Regions from separate parts of the Homo sapiens genome. Here region 2 is linked to region 1. Evidence: promoter capture Hi-C in 16 types of primary human blood cells and fetal thymus (Javierre and others, 2016). All regions are on one chromosome and are shown on one strand. Each heading gives the region's core, a stretch centred on a gene start or on the middle of the fragment in contact. The rest is flanking DNA. Distances are from core to core; before and after follow the strand shown.

Evidence for each region. The method cuts DNA at HindIII sites, captures the fragments that hold promoters and counts their contacts. A CHiCAGO score of 5 or more calls a contact.
Region 2: a contact is called between a fragment that was not itself captured here and the fragment with the promoter of ZNF740 in region 1, in 1 of 17 cell types (total B cells). The highest score is 5.8, in total B cells.

Annotation. Positions count from the first base shown.
Region 1 is chr12:53,177,472-53,183,452 of GRCh38, reverse strand. It overlaps ZNF740 (zinc finger protein 740), which reads right to left and starts at 2,731. Exons shown (of 7, transcript NM_001004304.4): 1 at 2,616-2,731; 2 at 1,461-1,776. The coding sequence starts at 1,469. It overlaps CSAD (cysteine sulfinic acid decarboxylase), which reads left to right and starts at 2,528. Exons shown (of 17, transcript NM_001244705.2): 1 at 2,528-2,721; 2 at 4,311-4,351. RefSeq lists silencers at 1,714-2,008, 2,362-2,661, 2,952-3,041 and an enhancer at 2,704-3,262. The HindIII fragment of the contact is 11,552 bases long and covers 1-5,981 here.
Region 2 is chr12:53,337,547-53,343,527 of GRCh38, reverse strand. It overlaps a transcript of SP7 not described here. Among named protein-coding and RNA genes, the nearest start is that of SP7, 4.2 kb to the right of the region's middle. The HindIII fragment of the contact is 269 bases long and covers 2,626-2,894 here.

The sequences.
Region 1 (5,981 bases), core at 1,482-3,981:
GAAGAAATTCCTTTTAGATGATCAGTACGTTCTGGGACCCCTCCCTCCACCTTCTGGGACTTTGGAGTGAAAGATCCAGAGTTAAAATCTTAGCTCAGCTGTTTGCACTCTATAATCTTGGGCAAGTTATTCCACCTTTGCAAGCCTTAGTTTCCTTACATGAAAAATGCCTGTCATAATGCTTATCCTTACAGGGTTGATGAAAAGTAAACTAAGACGTAAAACGCTTAACAGTGTCTAGCACAAAGTTCAGTCCTTAGTGGAAGGCAGCATTCTCAGAAGACTGAATACAATGCTGAGAAGTGGGTTGCAAAACACAAAGGAAGAAGAAACTGACAGGCTCCTATTCTATATGGAAAGGAGGAAGCTGTGCATTCAGAAGCAGCTGGAGGAAAGCCAATTATACTACAATCAGACTGCCATCCTGGTGAGACTGGTAGGGAGGTTCCCTAGAAGCAAGCTGGGAGAAGCTCTGGAGATGTGTGCACATAGCTATTCTACTCAGATGACTACAACAGCCTATCTGCTCATTCTGTCTCTCCAGTCCATCCTCTACCTCCACAATAATGACCTTCTACATAACACTGATCTGATGCTACTCTGCTGCTTAACTTAGCGAGGCATAAAAGGCCTTTGGGTTACACTCTGCTTACTGCAGGGAACAACTTCCTCACCTATCACTGTCAATACTACCTCCATAACTATCCCCATTTAAATCCCTTACTCCGTAACTATCAAACAACCTGCAGTACTCGGAACCTCATCACATTTTCCCATGACTCTAAGCTCCTGCCCATGCTGTTCCTTTTGTCCAAACACCCTTCTCGCTTGTTTAGCAAAATCCTATGCATCTTTCAACCTCCATCTTCTTTTTCTATCCAAGCAGAAGTACTGTTCTCTCCTATGTACATACCCCTATTATTGCACATTCCTCAATCAACAGATTCAGAGTCTCTACTACTAGCCAGCCACTATACAAGGCATTGTGAATATAAAAATAAATGGCTTTCCATCCCTCTCCCGACCCCAACTAGCCTGGAAGCTCACTGGGGACAAGGACAATCGTATTCATCTTTGTATTCCCAGCACAATGCCTTGCATGCAACAGGAACTCAATAAATTCCTGTTGGAAAAAAACAAAAGAAGCATTCACCGTACTATTCACTCCCTTACACCCCTCAGCACTTAATGTACCAAATGTAAACTGAGTACACGTTGCTTTGCAAATGTCCCATCAGTGCCTGTGATGCAGTATAGCCTACCTCCTTCATTTGACTGGAAGCTCCCTGAAGGCAGGGGCTGTGGCCTGTCTCCTTTCCTTCCTCTAGATCTCCCCCTGGTGCTTAATACAGAGCTTGGATCACTGGGGTTGGTCAATATGTTGACTAAGGCAGCATTCAAGAGTGAAACTGCAAACAGGCTTCCCAGTTATCTTGGAGGAGGACTCTAGAGCTTTTTACCTGAGCCATGCTGATTTCTCACTTAAGGCAACCCAAAAGTTCAGGAGTTCCTAGGTCCACCTTTCCTTGAGACACTGTCGTTTTGAAGAACTGTCACCAAATCACGGTAGCGACTCCTTCGTGTCCCATCAGTCCTGTTGCCATATTGAACTTTGTCTTCAAATAGAACTTAGTGTCCTCCGAAGAAAAGATAGGTGTTCCAAGAATCCCTGGACTCTGCCTGGCTCCTGCCTATTGTCTGAAGAAAAAGAGAGTCTACCAGTCTTGGTTTTCCAGTTGAATTCTCTTGATGAAGCTCACGATCTGTTTCAGAAACCTGAAACCAGAAAGGAAGAGGGGGGCTGCTAAATGCAACATCTTCAGGCCATTACAACGTGCGATATGAATTTTTTTTTTGCTGGGCGCTCTCTGTGAAGCTCAGAACGAGGACATGAGTCAAGAAGAGTTTTCTTTCTAGGTCAATAGGAGGAACTGGTCTCCTGGGCAAGGAGTGGAAGCCAACAGGAGCAAAAGTAATTGGGGCCTCCTATGGAGGAACTCTGCCAAAAGGAAAGTTGCTTGGATTTGCCATCTCAGGAATGGAAGAAGGGGGCGGAGACCCTTTGGGGCTTTTGTGCCCAGTGGGCCGGCCCGAAAAGCTCGCACTTTACAGAGGCGGCAAGACTAGGGTGGAGGAAAGCTCAAGGGCCATCGCTGGGTGCTTCGGTGGCGGGCAGAAACGGGACTGGCAGTGCCCACACGTGTGCGTTCTCCCCGTCCGCCCGAAGGTAGGGAAACTTGCTGCGGAGGTGGAGGACAGGCAGGCGAAGCCCGGCGCGGCGTGTCGCCCGCCTCGCTCCGGCCAGCCAGCCTCTGCACCCGCTGCACCAACCGGGAGCAGAGCCGGAGAGTGCCGAGAAGCGCGCGAGATGCGTGCTCGCGCCCGCGTCCCCTCCGAGAGCCCTCTCCCGGGCCGGGGACGCGGCGGGACGCGCGGGCAGGGGGCGGTGTGCGCGCACGGCCTTTCCCCTCCCTCCCCCGGAGATCCCCCTCCCTTCGCCACGCGCCCCTCCTCCCCTCCCCTCCCCCTTCCCGCGCGGCACCCCACGGCTTGCGAGCTACTGAAGCGCTGCCGTCTGTACGGACGACGCTGCGGTCTTTGGGGCTTGCTCCTACCTGCCAGGCGCGGCCTCCCGCTGGCTCCCTGGCCGCGCGGCGCCTCCTCCAGGCCCCAGCACACCCTGCCAACCCCACCGCCGCGGCTGCCCCCACCGGGACCGAGGCAAGTTTACAAACACCAACCCCGGCCCGTTTCCCCGGAAGCACTTCCCCCTCCCCCTCGTCCTCTCCGCCGAGCGGCTGCATCCACTTCCGGGCTCGGCAGCTAGACTAGCGGGGGCAGCCTCAGAGCGGGTGAGCTTGGGGACGCACGGAGAGGTGCAGCTGGGTGAGTGGGCGGCGCCGTGCGCCGAGGGCATGGAGGAGGGAGCGCTGAGGCCGGCGCGTGCGCCGTGGCCGGGGCGCGCCCCGGCCGCCATCGAGACTGAGGGCAGGACCCTCGGCCCTTCGATGATTGTACGCTGGGTGCTCGATGGGAGGAGGGTTTGCTGGGTGAGCTGGTTCAGACTCCTTGAAAAATCATCGTCACTCTTTCTTCCTCGCGGACGTCCTGCCCATCGCTCTGAGCCGGCGCCCCAAGTAGAGCCAGAGTAGTTCGTACCCAGCCTTTTCACGTAACTCGGCCGAGGTGGTTCTTCTCCGAATTTTTTCCGTCAGGCCCAGATTAGCAGATTTTGGGGTCAGCTGGGAGAGGCGTTAACTTTTCTTCGCACACTCTTGCTTTGTGCGCTCAACCACAGTCTGAATTCTCGCAGAGGCGTTCCTTGAGTAGCCCTTGGCCACACTGCTCACCTCCCTGCAGAAGTCAAAGCCCCAGCCCTCCTCTGCGAATCCCGAGGCCAGCCTGGTTGGTTACCTTCTCCCCTTCGCCCTTTACTCCAGGCCGTCCAGCATCAAACACTAGCCTCCACACGTGGAAAAGACCCTGACTCCCACAGTAGACTAGTCTTATGGGAGTCCTGGCTCTTGGGCCAGGCTGCATTAGGAAAATGGAAACCAGACTGTCTTCAAATTCTTCTGCCTAGCCTTAGCCATTAGAGAGAGGTCCTGCTAAAGATGGACTGCAAATGCGCTTGATGGAAGGAGATGTCAATTCCACTGAAGTCCTCATTTCTGCTGTAGGTGATATTATGTCGTGACTTTAGGAGAAGTAATGGTGATACCAAAAGAAAAAAAAAACTGTATGATGAAAAAAAGACAAGGATTCTCAACTTTTTTTTTTTTGTAGACAGATTTCATTTCCCTGAGCCACTCCATGATTTGGGCCATTGAAAGTACGTTTTTTGTGTTTTAGGATCATTCTAAAATAGAGACAAAATGGAGAAAGAGAGAGATAAAGAAACATCACCAGGAATAAGTCTTTTAAATCTTTTTTGAAAATTAGCTCCTACTTATTTTACAAATCGACACAACGCAAAAGTATAAAAGACACAAAATGGTTATTCTCCCCCTCTACTTATCCCATGCTCCTGAAGGGAATCATTCTTACCAGTTTGGTATATATGCTTTTAGGCTTTTTTCTGTGTTCATACAAAAATCTTTTCAACCAGTATTTATTGAGCACCTGTAATGCGCCATACAGTGTATTTTAGACATCTGAGTCAGCTAACATTTAAAAAACTGTTGCACAGTATTCCAGTTTATGTGTGTGCCTTGTCCCATCTTGATGAACATTTAGGTTTCAGATTTTTTTGCTTTATAAACAATACAATAATGAACATCCTTAAATAGTTATCTTTTTGCTCCGGGCAGGGTGGCTCACACCTGTAATCCCAGCACGTTGGGAAGCCGAGGTGGGCGGATCATCTGAGGTCGGGAGTTCCAGACCAGCCTGACCAACATGGAGAAACCGCGTCTCTTCTAAAAATACAAAATTAGCCGGGCGTGGTGGCACATGCCTGTAATCCCAGCTACTCGAGAGGCTGAGTCAGGAGAATCACTTGAACCCGGGAGGCGGGAGTTGTGGTGAGGCGAGAGTCGTGCCTTTCCTGGGCAATAAGAGTGAAACTCTGTCTCAAAAAAGAAAAAAAAGTTACCTTTTGCATTTATAAGGATTTATAGATAGGATATGTGCTTTTATTTAAATTTATTTTTATTTTTATTTTTTTTTGAGATGGAGTCTCACTCTGTCACCCAGGCTAGAGTGCAATGGCACAATCTTGGCTCACTGCAACCTCCACCTCCCAGGTTCAAGCAATTCTCCTGGCTTAGCCTCCTGAGTAGCTGGCGCCTGCTGCCAGCCCGGCTAATTTTTTTGTATTTTTTAGTAGAGATGGAGTTTCACCATGTTGGTCAGGCTGGTCTTGAACTCCTGACCTCAGGTCATCTACCCACCTTGGCCTCCCAAAGTGCTGGGATTCCAGGTGTGAGCCACCACACCCGGCCCTATTTTCATTCTGTTTAAAGATAGGGTCTTGGTCTGTCGCCCAGGCTGGAGTGCAATGGTGCAGTCAGGGCACACTGCAGCCTCAACCTCCTGGGCTCAAGGAATCCTCCCATCTTAGCCTCCCAAGTAGTTGGGACTACAGATGTGGGCAACTGTGCCTGGATAATTTTGTAGTTTTTTTTTTGTTTTTTTGTTTTTTGTAGAGACAGGGTTTTGCCATGTTGCCCAGGCTGGTCTCGAATTCCTAGGCTCAAGCTATCCATTGGCCTCGGCCTCCTAGAGTGCTAGGATTACAGGATTGAGCCACCATGCCTGGCCGGATATGTAAATTTTAATAGATTCTGTGAAAATGAATTGTAAAAGTTTGTAACAACTCCCATGTTTACTCAGAACCATGTGTGAATGTTCCCTATTCCTACAACTTTGGCAATGTTTAGTGTATGCTATGAATTTTTTATACAGTTACTAGTTTAATGGGTGAAAAATAGTATTTGTTTTAATTTTCATGTCATTAATAGTGAAGTTAATATTCTCTTATTGCCTTTTTTTTTTTTAAGAGATGGGTCTCTGGACAGGCACGGTGGCTCACGCCTGTAATCCCAGCACTCTGGGAGACCGAGGTGGGCGGATCACCTGAGGCCAGGAGTTTGAGACCAGCTGGGCCAACATGGAGAAACCCCATCTCTACTAAAAATACAAAAAAATTAGCTGGGCTTGGTGGCACGTGCCTGTAATCCCAGTTACCAGGTGGCTGAGGCAGGAGAATCACTTGAACCCGGGAGGCGGGGGTTGCAGTGAGCCCATATTGTGCCATTGCACTCCAGCCTGGGCAACAAGAGCGAAACTCTGTCTCAAAAAATAAATAAATAAATAAATAAATAAATAGATGGGTCTCCACGCTTTGTTGCCTTAGGCTGGTTTCCAACTCGTGAGCTCAAGTGATCCTCCCACTTCAGCCTTCCAAATAGGTGGGACTATTTTATTGCTCTTTGACCATTTTAATTGTTTTTGTAAACTGTCTGTTCATATCCTTTGCC
Region 2 (5,981 bases), core at 1,511-4,010, 160 kb before region 1:
CAACAGGAGAGGAATCTTAGGCCTCAAAGGTTAAATAGCTCACCCAAGCTTGCACCATTGTAAATGCCTGATTTACCCAGAACCGCCTGGCTCTAAGCCCTTATTTCATTCTCCTCTCTGAAGTCAGTCATTTCTCTAATATACGAGTATTCTCATATATTGCCTTTGGATCAAGTCTAGGCCCCTTGCATAGCTGATTAGAACTTCTCCATCAGCCTCCACTCTGTGTTGCACTCACACTCAATTTTCAGCATCTCAAAAGTTGTTAATCCCTCATACCTCTGAGCCTTTGCATATACTCTTCCCCCTTCCTACAACACTCTTCCTTTTTTTTTTCTTTTAGACAAGGTCTCATTCTGTCACCCAGACTATGTTTTTTTTTTTTTGTATTTTTTGTAGAGATGGGGTTTCGTCATGTTGCCCAGGCTGGTCTCAAACTCCTAGACTCAAGTGATCCACCCACCTCAGCCTCCCAAAGTGCTGGGATTACAGGCATGAGCCACTGCACTGGCACCACTCTTCCTTTTTTTACTTGATAACTCTTATTTGTCCTTCAGTTTCTTTACTTAGTCATGCTGTCTTCCAGGAAGCCTTCCTTAATTCCCCCCCAACACTGGCTTAGATTTACTCTTTTGTCTCCTATAACATCCAGTACTTATTTTTTATTTTATTTTATTTTTATTATTTATTATTTATTTATTTATTTATTTTTTGAGACGGAGTCTCTCTGTGTCACCTAGGCTGGGATGCAGTGGCACAATCTTGGCTCACTGCAACCCCCGCCTCCCAGGTTCAAGCAATTCTCTGCCTCAGCCTCCCAAGTAGCTGGGATTACAGGCATCTGCCACCACATCTGGCTAATTTTTTTGTATTTTTAGTAGAGATGGGGTTTCACCATCTTGGCCAGGCTAGTCTCGAACTCCTGACCTTATGATCTACCCACCTTGGCCTCCTACAGTGTTGGAATTACAGGCGTGAGCCACCACGCCTGGCCCTCCAGTACTTATTCTATCGAGATACTTCCTACTCTTTTGTATTAGTTGCTGGTTAGTTTGTGAGGTGAAGGGATGAGTCTGTCTTGCTTGTTATTGCATGCCTAAGTCTAGCCCAGTGTGCTTAGCACAAAGTAGGTGCTTTCTGAACATTTGTTGAATGAAAGAATGTTCTTTAAGTTCATTCCACATTTCAAAAATCTGGGCTCCGAGGAAGAATGCAGCAGGCCAGAGAAAGCGGGGAGACGTGTGTATTTAGGAATTTTTTTTTTTTTAAATGGAGTCTCGCTTGTCTTCCAGGCTGGAGTGCAGTGGCACAATCTCGGCTCACTGCAATCTCTGCCTTCTGGGTTCAAGTGATTCTCCTACCTCAGCCTCCAGAGTAGCTGGGATTACAGGCACGCGCCACCACACCCAGCTAATTTTTGTATTTTTAGTAGAGACAGGGTTTGTTTGTTTGTTTTTTGTTTTTTTTTTTGAGACGGAGTCTCGCTCTGTCGCCCAGGCTGGGGTGCAGTGGCGCGATCTCGGCTCACTGCAAGCTCCACCTCCCGGTCACGCCATTCTTCTGCCTCAGCCTACCAAGTAGCTGGGACTACAGGCGCCCGCCACCACGCCCGGCTAATTTTTTGTATTTTTAGTAGAGACAGGGTTTCACCATGTTAGCCAGGATGGTCTCGATCTCCTGACCTCGTGATCCGCCCTCCTCAGCCTCTCAAAGTGCTGGGATTACAGGCATGAGCCACCTCGGCCAGCCTGAGACAGGGTTTTGCCATGTTGGCCACGCTAGTCTCAAACTTCTGACCTCAGGTGATCCACCCACCTCGGCCTCCCAAAGTGCTGGGATTACAGGTGTGAGCCACCTCACCAGGCCTGTATTTAGGATTTTGAAGGACCATTCCCTTGAGTTGCTCAGCCTCACTCCTAGGGATGATGTGATCAGAACTCCATCACCCCAACTTCTTCTTATGAAAGACACTAGTATATTTCATGGATCAGATTCTAGGGTATCGTTTTTACAAAGGGTCATTTTCTAGAGATGACCAGGTTCTTACTTAATTCAATGTTGTCCCATTTTAGACACGGGCATCCAGGACAGGTCCCCTTGTTTCAGAATCAGACCCCAGTCTTCCTCTTCCTTTCATTTTTCACTTTGTCCCCTGCCATCCAGATTCCTTCCTGCTCCTTCCATGGCACTTCTGTTTCTGATTCTGATCTGCCTCTCCTAAAGCTGCTGAATTATATCAGGGCTCAATGTCAATGAAGGAACCCAAGGCTCAGGGAAGAGGGGAGCCAGAGTCAGTCCCAGAGGTCCTGCCTTGCAGCCCTGGTGCTGGAAGAGGGGATGGGGAGACCTAGCAGAGAGGGAGGGAAGTTGTAGTCTGTCTGTACCTGTAAATTTGTGTACATATTTGTTGGGGTGAGGAACTCCTTTTCCAAGCTGTCCTATACAAAGGTTGCCAGCCTCTTAAAAGCTTCCTTTCTACCCTGTGTCCTCAGCTTTGCCTCCTAAAATTGGATCCTCTTCCCCAAGTACCCTGAGCCTAGTGTCAGAAATGCTGGGTCAAGGCACTCGGCAGTCTCTAAATCCTGAGGCCATGAATGGATGTTCCTTCAACCCAAGGAGCAAGCTTTCCTGGTCATCAGCCCCATTGCTCTTAGAGGACCCAACAGACTAGTAGCTGATCCTCAGGGTCTCTCATCTGTATGCCCACCATTTGTTGTTTCCTCTTTGTCTCTCCTGTGTCTTTCTGTTTCCCTGTCTCTGCGTGCCTTCTTCTTTCCTGTCCCCTCTATGTTCTCTGTCGCTGGAGTATCCACTGGAGACAAGGGCTGGGCTGGGTGCATGGGCGGGTAGTGGCCAGACCAGGGGCCCGGGACATGAGCGCAACTTTCCAAGCTTCTCTTCCAGGCCCCTGTGGTTGGGGAGCTCCACAGAGGGAGAGATGAGTCAGCGGGGCCGCAGAGCAGCGGGGGCCTGGGTGGGGGTAGGGATGCTGGGGTTCCCCAGGACCAGGGAGTTCGCTGGGGCCATCTGGGTCTCTGAACTCTGGTGTGTGTGTGGAGTATTGGATCAAAAGTACCTAAAGGTACACTGGAACTTCTTATACTAGTAGGAGTTGGAGGCAGCAATTTGCAGGACTGGCAGTGGCCTCCATATCACCCTTATCTCCAGATCCTTATAGGGAGAGGGGTTCCCAAATGCCCTTTAGGAGACCACAGAGATCTCCAGGGCTGTAAAGTTGTAATGGTAGCCCTGGGTATATGTATGTGACATTTGCCACATGTGTAGATACGTGTGTTGATGGGAGTCTGTGAGTCCATGTGGGGAGTATTCTAGGTGGCTGTGAGTCTGTATGCATGTATATATATACTGGTGTGTGCATTTTTATGATTGGGGGTTAGGGTGTCTTGGGGTAAGCATTATCTGTATATGTATATATCAGTGTGTGTCAATATGGATGCCTGCATAGTACAAATGTGTATGAATTATGTGTCACCTTGTGTGTGTGCAAGTATGCAGATCTGAATGTGTCTGTCATCAGGTATGTATTAGGGCATGTGTCAGTCTCTATTTCAGGGGCTCTGCTCACTATTCTCTGGTGATTCTCCCTAGGGTAGTCAAACCTTCTATAACAGCAACAATGAAGAGTTGGGAGTCCCTTTGGATGAGGCTCTTAGAGACAGCCCAGCCTAGAAAGGTGGTAGAGGGTGATGGTGTGGACGATGGAAGTAGCATCCCTTGGGAATAGGGGGTACAGGTCTCCCACTCTCCCCAGTTTTTTTTTTCTTTCTTTTTTTTTTTTTTTGAGATGGAGTTTTGTTCTTGTTGCCCAGGCTGGAGTGCAATGGCATGATCTCAGCTCACTGCAATCTCCACCTCCTGGGTTCAAGTGATTCTACTGCCTCAGCCTCCCAAGTAGCTGGGATTACAGGCACCCGTCACCACGCTCAGCTGATTTTTGTATTTTTAGTAGAGACGGGGTTTCACCATGTTGGCCAGGCTGTCTCAAACTCCTGACCTCAGGTGATCCACCCACCTTGGCCTCCCAAAGCGCTGGGATTACCGGCGTGAGCCACTGCACCCGGCCCCACTCTCCCCAGTTTTCATTCTGTTTTCACCCCACTGATCTTTCCAAAAAGATCCAAAATCATTTGGAGAACTGAGGCAGGTGCCAGATTCAACCCCCTCTAACCTACAAAGCCCACCCTGATTCTCCTAGGGGAGGGTGGGAAGGGAATGGTTCCTGTGGTTCAGCCCAGTCCTGGCATTGGGATATCAGAAAGGCATCATCCCACCCCTTCCGTCTGGGGCATCCATCCCTTGGAGCTCAGCGTCTGGGTGGCCATGGGCGGAGGCTGAGGGGCCCCCAGGGTGGTGGGGGGTGGTGGATAGAAACCAGATGCCTAGGGGGTTTATACTGGAAGGACCAGAGCCGCAGCCTCTACCCGCCCCTGCCACATGGCGCCTCTCCCTGGTCTGCCCCACCCCCTGGGAGGCTGGGCTGAGGGAGGCCTGAGAGGGTGGAGGTAGGTCCTTGGTTAGGGCTTCCAATTGCTGCCCCCAGCCCCTCAGGGCACTGGGAAGGAGACTGGGGAGCTGGACCCAGGAACACCAGAGCCTCAGCTGGGCTGCAGGACTATTTTTAAAAAGGACATGGAGAAGTCAGAACCCAGGGGTTCCTGAGGGCAGCAGCTGGGGGATTCAGGCAGCCCCTCTGCCTATCTTTGGCGCTGATCTCTGGTGGGGAAGAGGCTCTGTGTCCAGAGGGTGTCCTATGTTGACACATCGGGGCACTGGCTCACATCTTCCTGGGACTCTGCTCCTCCTTTTTATTTCTCCGAGAATAGTAGGGTTCGAATAGAGAATAGTAGGGTTTGAATACGTCTGCCCCTTCCCGGGTAGGGTTAGGGATTAAAGCCCACACGGGGAGTGAGAAGGTGACCCTTCCTTCCAACTCCTCTCCCCAGCCCTGTCTGTCCATTTATCTTTCCATCCTTCCTCCTTTTCCCCTTCAGTTTCTTCCTTTCTTCTCTCATCTAATCTGAGTCCCAACCCCCTCCTCACCTGCTATCTCTTCTTTAGAATCTAGACTTTCTCCTCCTCTGCCTCAGTTTCCTGCCTGATCTAACTGGGTCGGGCTTTTCTGCTGGTGATACAGGAATTTCTCTAAAGCTTCTCTTTCTCAACTTCTGAGTTCGGGGCCCCGGAAAGCCATCTGGCACCTCAGTCTCAGACTCCCCCCCAACAAGGGGGAGACCGCGAGGTCACAGGGACACCCCACCACGGGCACTTCCTCTCAGGCAGACGGGTGGGGTGGCCCGTGTAATCAGCGGACACAATTATGTGCTATTTATACTCCTTCCCCGCCCCCCCACCTGCCTGGCAACACAACCCTCCTCCTCCTCCTCCTCCTCCTCCTCCTCCGGACCTGGCTATGCCTCAGGCTATTTTCTCTGTCCTTCCCAAGCCATTGTCTCCCCATCTTTGTTCCTCTGGGCCTGTTTCTTTATCTTTTTAGTTTCTTTCCTGCTCTGTTTTTTGTTGTTGTTGTTGTTGTTGTTTAAAGCCACACATCTGGTCTTCTGTTTTCCTGTTTCCTCTCTCTTATACCTGGTGATATCTCTTCTGATTGTCTTGGACTCTTTCATTTGCTCTGTTTCTTCTTTTGCTGCTTTCTCTTTGTCTATCAGCCACCTGGTTCCCAAACCCTTCCCCTAAACCTTGGGTTCCCAGAGTTCCTTGAGGTAAATCAAATCATGGGGCTAGAATCCAGAACTCCTGGGCCCTACCCTGAAATTGGTGCCTACCTGCTGGCGAAACTGCTGTGCAACCCTCCGTGGACCTCCATCTGCTCCTGCCACCTCCCAGCTTTTTCTTTGGAGATCTGGGAGAGCAAAAGGAGCAAGGAATTGGGCACTCCGAGAAAGTGAGGGGATGGTGTTGCAGAGTGAGGAGAGTGGAAAGGATGGGGCTTTATTCCCCTG